Regions from separate parts of the Homo sapiens genome. Here region 2 is linked to region 1. The links are contacts of gene promoters, found by promoter capture Hi-C in human tissues and cell types (Jung and others, 2019). All regions are on one chromosome and are shown on one strand. Each heading gives the region's core, a stretch centred on a gene start or on the middle of the fragment in contact. The rest is flanking DNA. Distances are from core to core; before and after follow the strand shown.

Evidence for each region. Contacts are between HindIII fragments. The study calls those that stand out against the background at their distance.
Region 2: a fragment that was not itself captured here is called in contact with the fragment with the promoter of COPG1 in region 1 in 2 of the 25 tissues and cell types used here (bladder and mesenchymal stem cells).

What each region holds. Positions count from the first base shown.
Region 1 is chr3:129,248,142-129,250,948 of GRCh38, reverse strand. COPG1 (coat protein complex I subunit gamma 1) reads right to left here and starts at 1,343. Exons shown (of 24, transcript NM_016128.4): 1 at 1,203-1,343; 2 at 215-267. The coding sequence starts at 1,239. The HindIII fragment of the contact is 12,995 bases long and covers 1-2,807 here.
Region 2 is chr3:129,166,754-129,169,560 of GRCh38, reverse strand. It overlaps CNBP (CCHC-type zinc finger nucleic acid binding protein), which reads left to right. Exons shown (of 5, transcript NM_003418.5): 5 at 1-1,734. Among named protein-coding and RNA genes, the nearest start is that of ISY1-RAB43, 7.1 kb to the right of the region's middle. The HindIII fragment of the contact is 4,446 bases long and covers 1-2,807 here.

The sequences.
Region 1 (2,807 bases), core at 94-2,593:
CTGTCTCAGAAAAAAAAAAAAAAAAAAAAAAAAAAAGAAGTAAGCATAACTAACTCTCTCCAGAAACAAAGTTTTCCTGTCTTCCAGAAAACTTCCAGGCACAAGTTTTCTCCCGTGTTGCTCTTTAAAACAACACTTTGAATGTGTTGGTATTTCAGTTGCATTGGTGGTGAATATTTATGATGGAAGCTAGAGGGGAGCAAATGTCACTTGCCTCCTGGAGTACCGCACTCTTCTCAAGGTGCTGGAATGGGTTGGAGCCTCCACCTACGGTCAAGGACAATGGAGAAGGTAGGTTGTGACTCTGAACTTCAAAACTCTCCCAGACATAGGTAAAGGGAAGATGTCCCTTCCTAGGAAATCTAGTAAAGTTCAAACTCCTCAGGAATGGCAATCAAGCCTCTACAATCTGTCTAGGGATCCTACTAGTCTCCTGCAAGCAGGTGGGCTCCACTCTACCCCAAACCACTCACAATCTCCCAGCAGCCCTGGTACAGTCCTGTGCTTCTCATGGTGCCATGTCTTGTGTTCATTTATATAACTTGTAATTAACTAAGTCCCTATGTGCCAGGGACCACCATCTCGTTGTAACTAGTTCCTTCATAGCAGATGACACATTTGCAAATAATTACACGTGTGATTATCTGGTTGATGTCTGCCTCCTCCATCGTGGGTGCAACCATTCTAATATTCCTAGCTCAGGCACTGAGTGTCCCACTTGCTCTGTTGCAGTATCCAGGACACCGTACAGTACCTGGCATACAGTAACTGCTCAATATACTTTGCTGAATAAATGAATGATGGGGTCAGAGTTCCCAGTCACAGGACGCTGGCTCCGCAGGTTACACCCCAGTTTGGCCAGCACCAACGTAGCCCCAGCGAATCCCAAGAGGTTGGACGAAGAAAGTAACAAGAGAACATTCGGCATGGTCCCCTCCTTTGACAGATGGGTAAATTGAGGCCTGGGGGGGGGGGTGTTTGTCGCGCCCAAGGTCACCCAGAAAATTGCAGTCCGAGCTTACAAGAGTGAGACAGCCGCGCATGCTCGGGCTCTCCGAGGCCTGCCACTGACTAGCTGTGGACCCTGGCACAAGCCCCTGCCCCTCACTGGGCCTCAGCCTCCGGGTCAGGACAGAGAACCAGAAGGAAAGCTCGGCGGGTGGGGGTCCGGCCTCCCTCAGACCCAGGCCTGGCCCCCTCACCTGACTCCTCATCCTTCTTGTCGAATTTCTTCAACATAGTGGAGTCGGTGGGGCGCAATGCAGCAACGCAATGCTCGACGGGCGCGGCACGGAGTAGCGGTGCCACAGTGGTTCTACAGGGACCACTTCCGGGCCCCGACTGGCCACGTCGCCCAGCGCTCTGCGCAGGCGCATTCCGCGCTCTGCGCCTGCGCTCTTTCCGGTAGCCACAGCCTCGTCTAATGTTAACCTTAGCTCCGCCGGAGCGGGAGTGGGGAAAGCCAGACGGAGGGGCAAGGGCTAGGTGCAGGGGGGTACTGACTAGCATCCCAACTCTGCTCCCTACGCTTCTTTCCGTATACCAAGGGAGGAGGAGGAGCCCCTGCCTCGTTGCGTTGTGGCGTGAGTCTTTGTGGCTTTCGGGTGTGAGGTTGGTGGCACACACTGGCCCGCAGTAAACACCCAATTGATGTGACCGGTCTATGACTGTTATTGCCACCTTCCGAAGGAGCCTTGCCAGCCACTCACTCCTCGCTTTCAGATTCTTTCCCCTGCCTGATTTCCTCCTCAGCTCGAATCGCCATCTAACACTTTATTTTTACTTTCTGGCTTTTATTTGTTTATTTATTTCTCGTTCTGCTGCCCAGGCTGTGGTGCAGTTGTGCGATCCTGGCTCACTGCAGCCTACAGTTCCTGGGCTCAAGCGATCCTCCCACCTCAGCCTCCCGAGTAGAGCTGGGCGCACCACCCCCGACTAATTTTTTAATTTTTGTAGAGACGAGGTCTCACTATGATGTTGCCCAGTCTGGTCTTGAACTCGTGGCCTCAAGCGATCCTCCTTTCTCGACCTTCCAAAGTGCTGGGATTACAGCGGTGAGCCACTGCACCCGGCCACTTTCTTGCTCTTTTGTTTTTTTTTTTGTTATTTGCTTGTTTGTTTGTCTTTTATTCACTGCAGTGGATAATGTTGGCACATAGTAGTTGCTCAGTGAGTTCTCGTTGAATGAATGCGTGCAATTGCATTTTTAATTTATATCTGCCGGGCCCTATCTCGTCTGCTCCTGATGCAAATTGCCTTGTACATTATCAACCTTAAGAGATCTAACTAAACAGCATAGAACTTCTACGTTATTTTGTAAATACTTTGGATATTTATGGAGTGCCAACTAGATGCGCTGCCTACGCGGGGAGGTGGGGGGAAGGGCGTGGGAAGGAACGGAAAGGGGAAAATGACACATCACCCAGGGTTTATCTTCCTGGGGACCTATGCAGGACACCCTGAGGCTAAGGTAAGCACAGTGCATGCCAGTGAGCCAGATTGCATTGGCAATGGCAAAGTCGTGATGGCCAAGCGCTGCGACACGGCCCCAGCTTGCCTGGGGAGGGGAAGCCCGCAGGCCTGTGGGCAGGAGAAGGAGTGGGCTGTGGAGAGGAGAGGCAGGAGGCTGAGGCAGAGGCCCCAGGTGAAAAGGGTGACCGCAAAGCTGGAGGAAGGGAGATGTCAGAGGGGCCAGCCCTTAGGGTCTGGCTTTGCAGAGGCTAGGGCCAAGGACAACAGATCTTGTGACATGCAAAATTGTCAAGAGTCAGAAAGATGTTCAAAATGTCTGATCGGTAACCCCACCC
Region 2 (2,807 bases), core at 175-2,674, 81 kb after region 1:
TTTTGTTTGTTTCAAATTTTCATTAATGTATATAGTGCAAAATACCATATTAAAGAGGGGAATGTGGAGGACTGAAAGCTGACAGTTTGGACTTTTCTTTTTGTACTTAAGTCATGTCTTCAATAATGAAAATTGCTGTTAAAAGGATGTATGGGATTTAGATACTTTTGCAAAGCTATAGAAAATTCACTTTGTAATCTGTTATAATAATGCCCTTGAGTTCTGTGTTCAGTCTGAACAGGTTTTTTGGTGGTGGTGGTTTTGTTTTGTTTTGGAGACGGAGTCTCACTCTTGTCGCCCAGGCTGGAGTGCAGGCTTGGCTCACTGCAACCTCCACCTCCCGGGTTCAAGCAATTCTCCTGCCTCAGCCTCCTGAGTAGCTGGGATTACAGGCACCCGCCACCACCCCCCGCTAATTTTTTGTATTTTTATTTTTATTTTATTTTTTTATTTTTTTTTGAGACAGAGTGTCGCTCTGTTGCCCAGGCTGGAGTGTAGTGGTGCGATCTCGGCTCACTGCAAGCTCCGCCTCCTGGGTTCGTGCCATTCTCCTGCCTCAGCCTCCTGAGTAGCTGGGGCTACAGGTACCCGCCACCGCGCCCAGCTAATTTTTTTTTTTTGTATTTTTAGTAAAGACGGGGTTTCACGGTGTTAGCCAGGATGGTCTCAATCTCCTGACCTCGTGATCCGCCCGCCTTGGCCTCCCAAAGTGCTGGGATCACAGGCGTGAGCCACCGCGCCCGGCCTATTTTTTGTATTTTTAGTAGAGACTGGGTTTCATCATGTTGGTCGGGCTGGTCTCCAACTCCTGACCTCAGGTGATCCACCTGCCCCGCCCCCCAAAGTGCTAGTGTTACAGGTGCGAGCCACCGTGTCTGGCCGATTCTGAACAGTTTTAATACCATTGCTATTTTTGTGTTTTTCCTGGGCCTTTTTTTTTTTTTTTTTTTTTTTTGAGACAGTCTCGCTCTGTTGCCCAGGCTAGAGTGCAATGGTGCAATCTCAGCTCACTGCAACCTCCACCCCCCACCCCCACACCCCGTTCAAGTAATTCTCCTGCCTCAGCCTCCCAAATAGCTGGGATTACAGGTGTCCGCCACCACACCCAGCTAATTTTTGTTATTTTTAGTAGAGATGGGGTTTCACTGTGTTGGTCAGGCTGGTCTCCAACTGTTGCCCTCAGGTGAGCCACTGTGCCCCACCTTTTCCTGGGTTTCATAAGGATCTGAAGTGGTGGATTCCTTGTTTTTGCTAGTGTCTCATTTAGAGTTGAGATGGACCTTAAAACTCATCTGTTTTAACTCACTTTTTAATAGATGAGTTAAACTTAATTTACTTAAGGATGTACAGTTAGAGCCTGGAACTTCAACCATTATTCACTCCCCATGCCCTGTTTCCCCCCACTTCGAAATTAAATGCGGTTAGCATCATATAGTTCATTTTCCCCCTCCATGCTGCTGTGTGATTCTTGACTTTGGGTATGAGTTTTTCATCCTTCATGCAGGGTTCTGTCAGTTCATGGTATAGTGATTCAGTGTTAAAATGGTGGTGTCTCAGCTGTGCTGTGCACATTCCAACCTTGTCAAATTAATAGTCCTGAGCAAGCAAGAAAAAGAGGTAATAACATACCCATTTCTTTATGAATATAAGCTTATAATATTTTTTCATGTGCTATTTTTACTGAGCAAATTGTATGTCTCACATGTTAACACAATAAATATCTTGACAATTTTATTTTCTACCATATGTATGAAACAGCATAAGGAAAGACTTTTTTTCGAAGGCATCACTGTTAGGTTGGGGGAAAGATTTATTTTTGAAGGCATCACTGTTAAATGAGGTTTGGGGGCTGGTGTGCACATGGAGTTATTTCCCCCCAAATTCTGGGCCTCATGTAGGAAAACCTAAAACATAGCAAATGGGATATGTTGTTATGGCTCTTCAGGTCAGCTTAGTTCTCATTAATAATACTTTCTCCTGCGTTAATCACAGCTTTGTGTGTTGGGAAGGGAAAAAGTAAAGTGGGTTGGTTAAAATTTAGAACTCCTTTGCTTCATGCACCCATTCCTTGTGCTGAATTTGTAGTACTTTAGTTGCTTTGTGAGACCTTTTGAAACAACATAATTAAGGACCTATTCACAGGAGACTACAAAGTGTTCCTTTATAAGATAAAATTTATTTGCATTGACCTTGATGACTGGAAAGCAAATGCAACATGAAAATGTGTATTTTACAGAGAAATCCGGCTAACTAAAAGGAGTCACACTGGGCGTGGTGGCTTATTCCTGTGATCCCAGCACTTTGGGAAGCCAAGACGGGTGGATCATGAGGTCAGGAGTTCGAGACCAGCCTGGCTGACATGGGGAAACCCTTGTCTCTACTGAAAATGCAAAAATTAGCCAGGTGTGGTGTCACACGCCTTGATTCTCAGCTACTCAGGAGGCTGAGGCAGGAGAATACCTCGAACCAGGAGGCAGAGGTTGCAGTGAGCCAAGATTGGCGCCATTGCGCTCCATTCTGGGGAACAGACAGACTCCGTCTCAAAAAAAAAAAAAAACAGTACAATGAACCCCCCATGTGTTCTCGATCTAGAGTTAACAATAGTTTGAAAGTAAGTTATAGACGTGACATCACTTTATCATGCATCTTATAAGATGTTCTCATTACCACAGTACCATTATCATACTTAATGTATCTAAACATTCCCTAGTATCTGATATCTAATACTATATTCAAATAGCATAATTGTGTCTAAGAAGTGTTATGTAGCTACGTTTTCCAAACCAGGATCCAGTCAGCATTTATGA